Linked DNA regions of Homo sapiens: regions 2 and 3 are each linked to region 1. Evidence: promoter capture Hi-C in human tissues and cell types (Jung and others, 2019). All regions are on one chromosome and are shown on one strand. The core of a region is centred on a gene start or on the middle of the fragment in contact, and the rest is flanking DNA. Distances in the headings are between cores, read along the strand shown. Region 1 holds the start of KRT20 (keratin 20). Region 2 holds the start of KRTAP9-4 (keratin associated protein 9-4). Region 3 has its middle 11 kb from the start of KRTAP9-2.

Region 1 (3,213 bases), core at 420-2,919:
AGAACGAAATGCATGATGGAGGCATATAGATGAAAAATCTACTTGCAGAAGATGTTACAATGACATTTCTCTTTCAATGGACCCAGTTTTGGAGAGGGCTGCTTCCTATGGTTGGGACTGTCCAGCTCAATGGGACGGATGGCCTGTGCCTGTGTATTTCAGATGAACCAAACTAGAGTCAGAAACACGAGACAGGTGTGGTTCGAACATTTTTAGTGAGAGCTTGCGAAGGATGAACTTTATTCCGGAAGGGCTATTTAAATGCCATTGCTTCACATGCCCATAGTTTCTAAAATTCCAAAGTAACTTCCCATGGAGTCCGAATCAAATTGCCCTGATGTTTAGTACAACTCAAGAAAAACAGACTTGCTGGTAAGTAAATGCGCTTTGCTCTAAAGGAGTATGAATCTTAACACAAATTACAGTGAACACTTTTCTTAATTAGATAAGAACTTTAATTTGAAGCAAGTGCTCTGTGTCATATCTGAAATTTTCAATTAGGAGCAAAGTCTTCTGCTTTTATTCCATGAAACTGATAAAATACAGAGCTCCACCCTTTTTTTGATGACATAGGAGGAGGTTGTGATATGATTGTAATAAACATGAATTGGGGGCAATAGAACATTTTATTACTGTAGAAGTAGTTTCTGAACTGCTTGATGCTGATGGTCATGTTATTAAACAGGGCACTTAAAAATCCAGGCATCATTAAGACCCATATTCCTGCCACACTGTTTCCACCCAGAATCACTTTGCTATTTAAATCTGCAGTACAGTATTCTAATAGTCATATTATAACATTTACTTAAATAAAAGGAGAAAAGTCTTTGAATTTACTGGGGTTTCAAAACTTGATAAGGACTAGGTGAAAAACTAAGAGAGATTTATCACGTAATTAATTTTTAGCTCTTTTCAGAAAGATTGTTCACTATACATTTAGCCCTGATGTGATAAGCTGTGACAAAGATTCATTTTATTCCGGAGGATAAAATGTTCATATTTTGTATGTAATTGTGTTAAACATTAAAAATAGCATGATTTAAGGTCATCCTGTTGTACAGTCAGGTACTCCAGCACTAAAGGTAGATGAAAGAATTTTTATAGATGTAACATTTTAGCCTAATTTGCTTTACAAAGTCCATTTGGACCTACCTAACATAGATAACCTCTTGATTTATCTTGAAGCTAAACACAGAGTAGGAAACACAAGCATCATCTCTCACCTGACTTCGCAGCTCTTCAATTTGTCTGTAATATGCACTGTAGTCGCGACCAGCCCTCGGGGCGTTGGTTTCGTACCACTGCTTGATTTGCACTTCAAGTTTGGAGTTGGACTGCTCCAGGGTCCGCACCTTTTCTAGGTAGCTCGCTAGACGGTCATTTAGGTTCTGCATGGCCATTTTCTCATTGCCAACAAACAGGTCCCCGCCGCCTGTGAGATCGCTCCCATAGTTCACCGTGTGTCTGGAGTTGGAGATGCGGATGCCCCGGCCTCCAGCACCCCCATAAACGCTGGGTGTCGTCCCGAGGCGCTGCATGCCCACTGTACTGACTACAGGGGCCTGCAAGGAGGAGCTCAGGCTTCTGTGGAAGCTTCTGCGACTGAAATCCATTGGAGATTCCAGGAGGGAGCACCTGTAGCTTCAGGATGGTTGGGGCAGAGTGTGTCTCATGGAGGGTGTTGAGCTAGCCTTTTATGAAGTCCACAGGCAAGAAACTCCTCCTCTGCTGACATGTCACTAGGATTGGCACCACAGTCCACCTTGCCTTACTTCCACGCCCCCCGCTTTGTATAGCAATATGTTAATATGCTTAATTCAATTCCAGAAAATACCACTAGAGGCATTTCTTGGAGGCTTTTATCAGGGGCAACTTTTTTTTTTTTTTAATTAAACAGGTAATAAAAGGAAACAGGAAAGTGTATTCTTTTAGCCCATGCGCCTGCCTTGGCAGGTTTTTTTCATCCTAACATACACACAAAGAATATTTACAATCCTCATGTATAATTTAGGTATCTAAAAAGGCAGATGTGCCTACATAACTGAAAGTCACAATGGAGATAAAGGACAATGTTTGATTTGTATTGAGGAGTTGCTCTTCAGAACCTCTGTTTCATGCTTTGCTTGTGTTTGGCTTTTAAGTTTATTGTGTTTTGGACATCTTATTTTATAAGACTATTAAAATATTTTGTACAAACACAAAACCTCGAATCCCTAAACCAGGAATGAAACCATTGTACATTTGGAGATGTAGTTTGGGGATGTGAATTAAATGAATTTAGCTGAGTGATGGATTAGATGATTTGGGAGGTTATTTTCTTTCTATTTCTAATGTTCTATGACTAAATATTGCATTTTAGGTTTCCAGTCACCACCTGGCTTCAAGTCCTGTTACCAAGACACTTAGAATAAATCACACAGTGCTTTGTACCTGGCATGGTATCAGGATGGGTCTCCTCTTTTGTATGAGGCCAGCTTAACACCCACCATGAGACAGACTCTGCCCCATCCATCCTGAAGCTACTTACAGGTGCTCCTTCTAAAGTCCCCAGTGGATTTCAGTTGCAGAAGCTTCCATGGAAGCCTGATCTTCCTTGTATGCCCCCATAATCACAGCGAGAGTGGCTGTTTATATAGGAAGGGGTGCAGGCGGGGACTTGGGACTACACTCAGCTTCCAGGGTTGGGCTGGAGGCAGCTGCTTGTGTGTGGACCTCTAGACACATGGGCATGATCTCATCGGTGGGAATCTGATTGTAAGCAACCAATAAATGCCTGAGTCACTTGCTTCCCTTCATTCAAACCCCCTGGCTGAGAATTCACACTTCCCATGAAGCATGTAAATCACTTCCTTAGTTAATTAGATAATCACTAATTAATATAATTAGATAATCAGTTAATCACTTCCAAGTTAATTAGAAGGGATTGGAAAAGTCACTAAAAACATCTAATTAATTGTCATCCTGATACTTTAATGGAATTGAGATTTGTATATAATTAAGCAAGCAAGTAAATGCAAAAAAAATTGGAATTTAATTGTCTTATTTTAGTGGCTTATTTGTTGTTGCTGTTGTTCTGAAAGCCAGTCACTTAAAAAAAATTTTTTTTGAGTTTTTAGAAACCAGTGGCTTTTTTACTTTTGAGTTTAAATTTCTTTTACACACAACTTTCTTCTAAAATAAGGTCAGATCATATTATTTCTCTCTTATAAACAG
Region 2 (3,213 bases), core at 449-2,948, 360 kb after region 1:
GTTATCACTAGGCATGGACACACTGTGAGATTCTGCAGTGTTATGGGTTCATTTGCGTCCCTCAAAATTCATATTCAAATAGAATCATCTAAAGTGTTATCTGATAAGACAAGGTCATATTGGAAACAATTAGGCCTCTGATTAAATATGACTGTGTCTATTCACAAGGGAGAAATTCAGAGACAGTATGGATATAATAGAAAAATTATGTCAAACACACTTGGAGATGATAGACTTTGACACGTCAGGGAGAGAGACGTGGAACAGATACTTCCCTCGCAGTCTTCAGATGAAAACAACATTGCCAACACCTTAATTTCAGAAAAGAGGCCTTCAGAACTTTGATAAATAAATTTAAGCCACTTTTTTTCAGTAATTCATCAGGGCAGTGCTAGTAAATTAATATACTCAGTAAATCTCCTGAGCTATAGATATATTCTGCTACACTATATGGCTTGAGGGTAATTATCCCTCACCAAATAGTAACTACTTTCTCTGTCTGCTGCTTTGCTTATATGAAGAGTCCAAAATGACTAGGCGATAAAGATTACTTTTGTTTATGCCAAAGAAATAGAGAAGCAAATACTATACTTTTTATTCACATGAAAACTTTAAAAAACCAAAAATTACCTACAGGATTACAACTGATAGAGTGATTAGCTGTCTTTGGGAATGAGTAAGAGCATATAATTGGGAGAGAATGGAATTAATTTCTATTTCCTAACATAGATGTAATGGGGACACAGATGTATTTACAATATAATACTATATCAAGTTGAAAATTAATAATTTGCATTCTTCTCAAATGAATGGTATACCTAGAAAATGTTTTAAACATGTTAGAACTCCATGATGAATCAGGCATCATCTCAACTCATCTAATTCCTTCATTAAAAAGAAATAGAGAGAGAGAGAGAAGACATGCTGCTTACTGTGCTAGTAACCGGGTTGCGACTAGAGCCACAGCACATGCTGGTTGGCCTGAATCTCAAGCATTTATGCCATAGAGAGTCCTACATTCTCATTCTGGAATCGCCACGCTCACAGACAAGTCAGAATGAATGGTCACTCAGGGCATAGATTACTTGATGCTGTCTAAATCCCAGTGGATTTATCTGCATCCACCTGCTCTCGATCTGCTCTGCCACATGGAACACACTGTGACAAACACCCTCTTCCCAAGTGATGTTCAAAGAACTGAAAGACAGGTGGTGTGGGTTGCACAGAGAGATGCCTGCTAGTCTTGAGTCAGAATTTGGTGGGTGACTAGTCTTGGGCCCAGGCATGGATTCATTTTGTCACTGTAAATATATCAGCATCATGCTTCTCCCCACAGACACTTCCCAGTCTACATACAGCCAAACATGAGGCTGGCCAGAGAGAACTTCCTGAGCCTCCCAGATCAACAGGAACTATCACATGACCAGATGATGGTCAGAACAGGAATGATGCTGATGATGAGATTGCCTTCCTTTTATCTGAAACAAAGTGTCTATGAGTAATTCACAATTAAGAAACAGATTAAACCTTAATCTGTTTAACCTTAAGGAAACAACTACCCTTTGAGAATCACAAACGGACTGGGAAAACAATGTAAACGGAAACAAGGAAAAGTCCTGCTGATTGGTGGAAACTTTGGAGGCCAGGTGTATAAAAGGTCCAGATTGCAAGGGGTCATCAGATTCTGGGAAACTCACCTCTGAACAGAAGCCCACCCTCTACCCCTGACACCATGACCCACTGTTGCTCCCCTTGCTGTCAGCCTACATGCTGCAGGACCACCTGCTGCAGGACCACCTGCTGGAAGCCCACCACTGTGACCACCTGCAGCAGCACACCCTGCTGCCAGCCCTCCTGCTGTGTTTCCAGCTGCTGCCAGCCTTGCTGCCGCCCAACTTGCTGTCAAAACACCTGCTGCCAGCCCACCTGTGTGACCAGCTGCTGCCAGCCTTCCTGCTGCAGCACACCCTGCTGCCAGCCCACCTGCTGTGGGTCCAGCTGTGACCAGAGCAGCTCCTGTGCACCTGTGTACTGCAGAAGAACCTGCTACTACCCCACAACTGTCTGCCTGCCTGGTTGCCTAAACCAGAGCTGTGGCTCCAACTGCTGCCAGCCCTGCTGCCGCCCAGCCTGCTGTGAGACCACTTGCTTCCAGCCCACCTGTGTGTCCAGCTGCTGTCAGCCTTTTTGCTGCTGATCAAGTCCCAAGAGAACCACCATCCTCACACAACAACTTTCTGCTCAACTGACTTATCTTTTGGGGGACTAATTTAATTTGCTGCTGACAGCCACCATGCTCTCACCCAAATTTTTATGAATTCTCTACCTGTTTAAAATCTTGGGAATCTACTTGAGGGAGGGCAGAATACTTCATCCTGATTCTCTTTTTCCTTACACTTTGTGGATCATGTGCCAGCTTCGTGTGTTCTCAATTTTGAGTCATGGTCTCAGCTTTGACTCAAAAGTCAAGAGCTTCATTCTCTGCTTCTAAGGAATTTAGGTTTCTGCAACTGATCAATAATCTTTGCAATCATATTTTTGTTTTCAATATCCTCCTCATGGTTCTTGTATCCTTCTTTCTTCTTTTCATAACTTTGGGTTATGTTTCTGCTACCAGCAGAGATTCTTAGCTATATGTTTCTGAATAAACTCTGAACCATCCTCATCTCATATGGTGTTTTGTTTTATATGAAAGCATTCCTGATATGAGATTTACACACATATCACATACCATAGGTATTATCCAATTTGATTCTCAAAACAGATGGTCGTGTGTTATTACCTCCATTTTTTCAGCTGAGAACAATTTAATGTGTGATGTTATGTAGCTAGTAAAGGGCAGACTCTTGTCCAAGCTGAGGTCCTCTCTTTCTGCCCAAGGACACTTACATTTAACTCTCAATATAGTAGAAATGACATTGGAAGTAAGTATTAGCAAGTCATATACTTGAGTTTTTTTAACAATAGGACAAATAATCTCTTATATTTGCAGATAACGTTTTTGTTTACAAAAAATTCCCAATTTCCCACACCTCAGTGAGAAACAGCTGCGTGATATGGCAGCAGGGACTGCATTTAATGGCTGCCCTGAATGCAGGGAGCTCTTTTTGTCTCAGCCTCTGACCAGCCACTCATTCAATTCATCTACATCAAAAAAAGCTTGGGAATTTATTGTGGACTCATGAGAGAGAGTCTCATCTGAAGAAACTTGTT
Region 3 (3,213 bases), core at 438-2,937, 330 kb after region 1:
TGGCCAGGCTGGTCTCAAACTCCTGACCTCAGGAGATCTGCCCACCTCGGCCTCCCAAAGTGTTGGGATTACAGCCATGAGCCACCACACCCGGCCCTTATTAGATCTTTACAATGATAAATATCATTTTGTTTCAAATTAATACTCACTTTTGTGACTTTCCATGACAACTCTGTATTATCTTCTTAGCAGAAAGGAGCATTGCTTTATTTATTTCCTAATAAAGCGTTTACTATAGTGCCTCCTGTGTTGTGTTTTGTTTTGTTTCAGTGATTGTTTTGCATCTCACATATATTATCTCATCTAAGTCACATAGAAGCCTCAAACTTGGACAGAACCAAGATGAGTAAAGTGGCCTGCATCGTGTCATGTAGCTAAGGATGGACAGAATTGGCTCTAGGCTCAGGGTTTCTGATTTCACCTCTACTGATGTCACATTTACAGAATTATACTAAGGACTTAGAACCGGGAAGGGGTGCACTCGAAGTTGTTCTCTGACAATGGAAACACCAATTCCACGCATTTGCAGACCATTTTCTACTAACAAAGTTCTTTCCAAATTCATTCCCCTAACCAATAGCCACATCTTAAGAGCAACAACTCGTTTTAAGAGCCCTCGTGAATCATGTGAACATTTTATATTCTCAGTCTCTTGTCAGGCACTGGTGAAGTTCTTTAAATATTTTTGAGCACCCATTGTGTTCCTGCCTCTGTCCTGGGACTTTGGTGTGAGAGGCTCATCTAGAAATACTTGTTTGTTGAAATAATGGAATTGGCATTCTGTTTGTCCTCATTCTTCTGGTCACCTAAATAAATGGTAATAGAAGATTAAGTCATGGCCCAAAAAACTTAGGCCACATTTCATTTGCACCCAAACTTTGAGAGATAATTTGTTTTCACATCAAAACTTTTTATTCCTGGCTTACTGTTTTTTTATTGTGGTAAAATACACATAAAATTTACAATTATAATCTTTATTTATTTATTTATTTTTGAGATGGAATTTTGCTCTGTCACCCAGGCTGGAGTGCAGTGGCACGTTCTCAGCTCACTGCAACCTCCGCCTTCCAGGTTCGAGCGATCCTCCTGCCTCAGCCTCCCGAGTAGCTGGGACTACAGGCATGTGCCACCATGCCTGGTTAATTTTTTGTAGTTTTAGTAGAGATGGGGTTTCACTATGTTGGCCAGATTGGTCTCAAATACCTTACCTCGTGATCCACCTGCCTCAGCCTCTCAAAGTGTTGGGATTACAGGTGTGAGCCACCGTGCCCAACCACAATTATAATCATTTTTACATATACAGTTCAGTGGAAGTAAGTACACTCATGTTGTTAGACAACCATCATCTGTCTCCAGAAATTTTAAAAAATTTTTTAAATTATTTATTTTTTATTTTATCAACTTTTATTTTAAGTTCTGGGATACGTGTGCAGGATGTGCAGGTTTGTTACATAGGTAAATGTGCCATGGTGGTTTGCTACACAGATCAACCCATCACCCAAGTATTAAGCCCAGAACCCATTAACTGTTCTTCCTGATGCCCTCCCTCTCATTGCCTGCAACAGGCCCCAGTATGTGTTGTTCTCCCACCCCAACGTTTGTCCATGTGTTCCCATCATTCAGCTCCCACTTATAAATGAAAACATGTCATTTTGGTTTTCTGTTCCTGTGTTAGTTTGCTGAGAATAACAGCTTCTAGCTCCATCCATGTCCCTACAAAGGACATGATCCAGTTCCTTTTTATGGCTGCATAGTATTCCATTGTGTACATGTATCATATTTTCTTTATCCAGTCTACTCTTGATGGGCATTTGGGTTGGTTCCATGTCTTTGCTATTGTGAGTAGTGCTGCAGTGAACATATGCATGCATGTATCTTTATGATAGAATGATTTCTATTCCTTTGGGTATATATCCAGTAAAGGGATTGCTGAATCAAATGGTATTTCTGGGGATGGTGCTATCTGGTCCAGCTACTATGCTTTTCTATGGTCTTCACAACTCACAGACCAGGAGATTCCCTCGGGTGCCTACACCACCACGGCCCTGGGCTTCAAGCACAAAACTGGGTGGCTGTTTGGGCAAACACCAAGCTAGCTGTAGGAGTTTTGTGTTTTTGTTTTGCTTTGTTGTTGTTGTTGTTGTTTTCATATCCTAGTGGTGCCTGGAATGCCAGCGGCACAAAACTGTTCACTACCCTGGAAAGGGGCTGAAGCCAGGGAGCCGAGTGGTCTTGTTCAGCAGATCCCACCCCCAAGGCACCCAACAAGCTAAAATTCACTGGCTTGAAATTCTCGCTGGCAGCACAGCAGTCTGAAGTCGACCTGGGACACTCGAGCTTGGTGCGGGGAGGGGCGCCCACCACTGCCAAAGCTTGAGTAGGCAGTTTTCCCCTCACAGTGTAAACAAAGTTGCCGGGAATTTCGAACTGGGTGCGGAACCACCTCAGCACAGCAAAGCCACTGTGGCCAGACTGCCGCTCTATATTCCTCCTGTCTCGGGAGGTCATCTCTGAAAGAAAGGCAGCAGCCCCATTCAGGGGCTTACAGATAAAACTCCCATCTCCCTGGGACAGAGCACCTGTGGGGTGGGGCAGCTGTGGGCACAGCTTCAGCAGCAGACTCAAACGTTCCTGCCTGCGGGCTCTGAAGAGATCGACTGTTCTCCCAGCACAGCGCTCAAGCTCTGCTAAGGGACAGACTGCCTCCTCAGGTGGGTCTCTGACCCACATGCCTCCTGACTCCTCCCAGCAGGGGTCAACAGACACCTCATAGCGGAGAGCTCCGGCTGGCATCTGGCAGGTGCCCCCTGGGACAAAGCTTCCAGAGGAAGGAGCAGGCAGCAATACCCAGGCAAACAGGGTCTGGAGTGGACCTTCAGCAAACTCCAGCAGACCTGCAGAAGAGGGGCCTGACTGTTAGAAGGAAAACTAACAAACAGAAAGCAACAGCATCAATATCAACAAAAAGGATGCCCACGCAAAAACCCAATCCAAAGGTTACCAATATCAAAGACCAAAGGTGGATAAATCCAAGAAGATGAGGAAAAACCAGCACAAGAAAAGGCTGAAAATTCCAAAAACCAGAATGCCTCTTCTCTTCCAAAGGATTACAACTCCTCACCAGCAAGGGAACAAATCTGGACAGAGAATAAGTTTGATGAATTGACAGAAGTAGGTTTCAGAAGGTGGGTAATAACAAACTCCTCTGAGCTA

What was found. The method cuts DNA at HindIII sites, captures the fragments that hold promoters and counts their contacts. A contact is called where the count stands out against the background at its distance.
Region 2: the fragment with the promoter of KRTAP9-4 here is called in contact with the fragment with the promoter of KRT20 in region 1 in 3 of the 25 tissues and cell types used here (H1 embryonic stem cells, IMR-90 fibroblasts and mesenchymal stem cells).
Region 3: a fragment that was not itself captured here is called in contact with the fragment with the promoter of KRT20 in region 1 in 2 of the 25 tissues and cell types used here (mesenchymal stem cells and spleen).

Annotation. Positions count from the first base shown.
Region 1 is chr17:40,883,573-40,886,785 of GRCh38, forward strand. KRT20 (keratin 20) reads right to left here and starts at 1,670. Exons shown (of 8, transcript NM_019010.3): 1 at 1,224-1,670. The coding sequence starts at 1,613. The region is part of intron 1 of LOC105371777 (a long non-coding RNA gene); the gene reads left to right. The HindIII fragment of the contact is 3,526 bases long and covers 1-2,081 here.
Region 2 is chr17:41,247,989-41,251,201 of GRCh38, forward strand. It overlaps KRTAP9-4 (keratin associated protein 9-4), which reads left to right and starts at 1,699. Exons shown (of 1, transcript NM_033191.3): 1 at 1,699-2,665. The coding sequence starts at 1,733. The coding sequence ends at 2,197. RefSeq lists an enhancer at 1,426-1,980. The HindIII fragment of the contact is 7,447 bases long and covers 1-3,213 here.
Region 3 is chr17:41,214,134-41,217,346 of GRCh38, forward strand. No RefSeq gene overlaps it. Among named protein-coding and RNA genes, the nearest start is that of KRTAP9-2, 11 kb to the right of the region's middle. The HindIII fragment of the contact is 7,634 bases long and covers 1-3,213 here.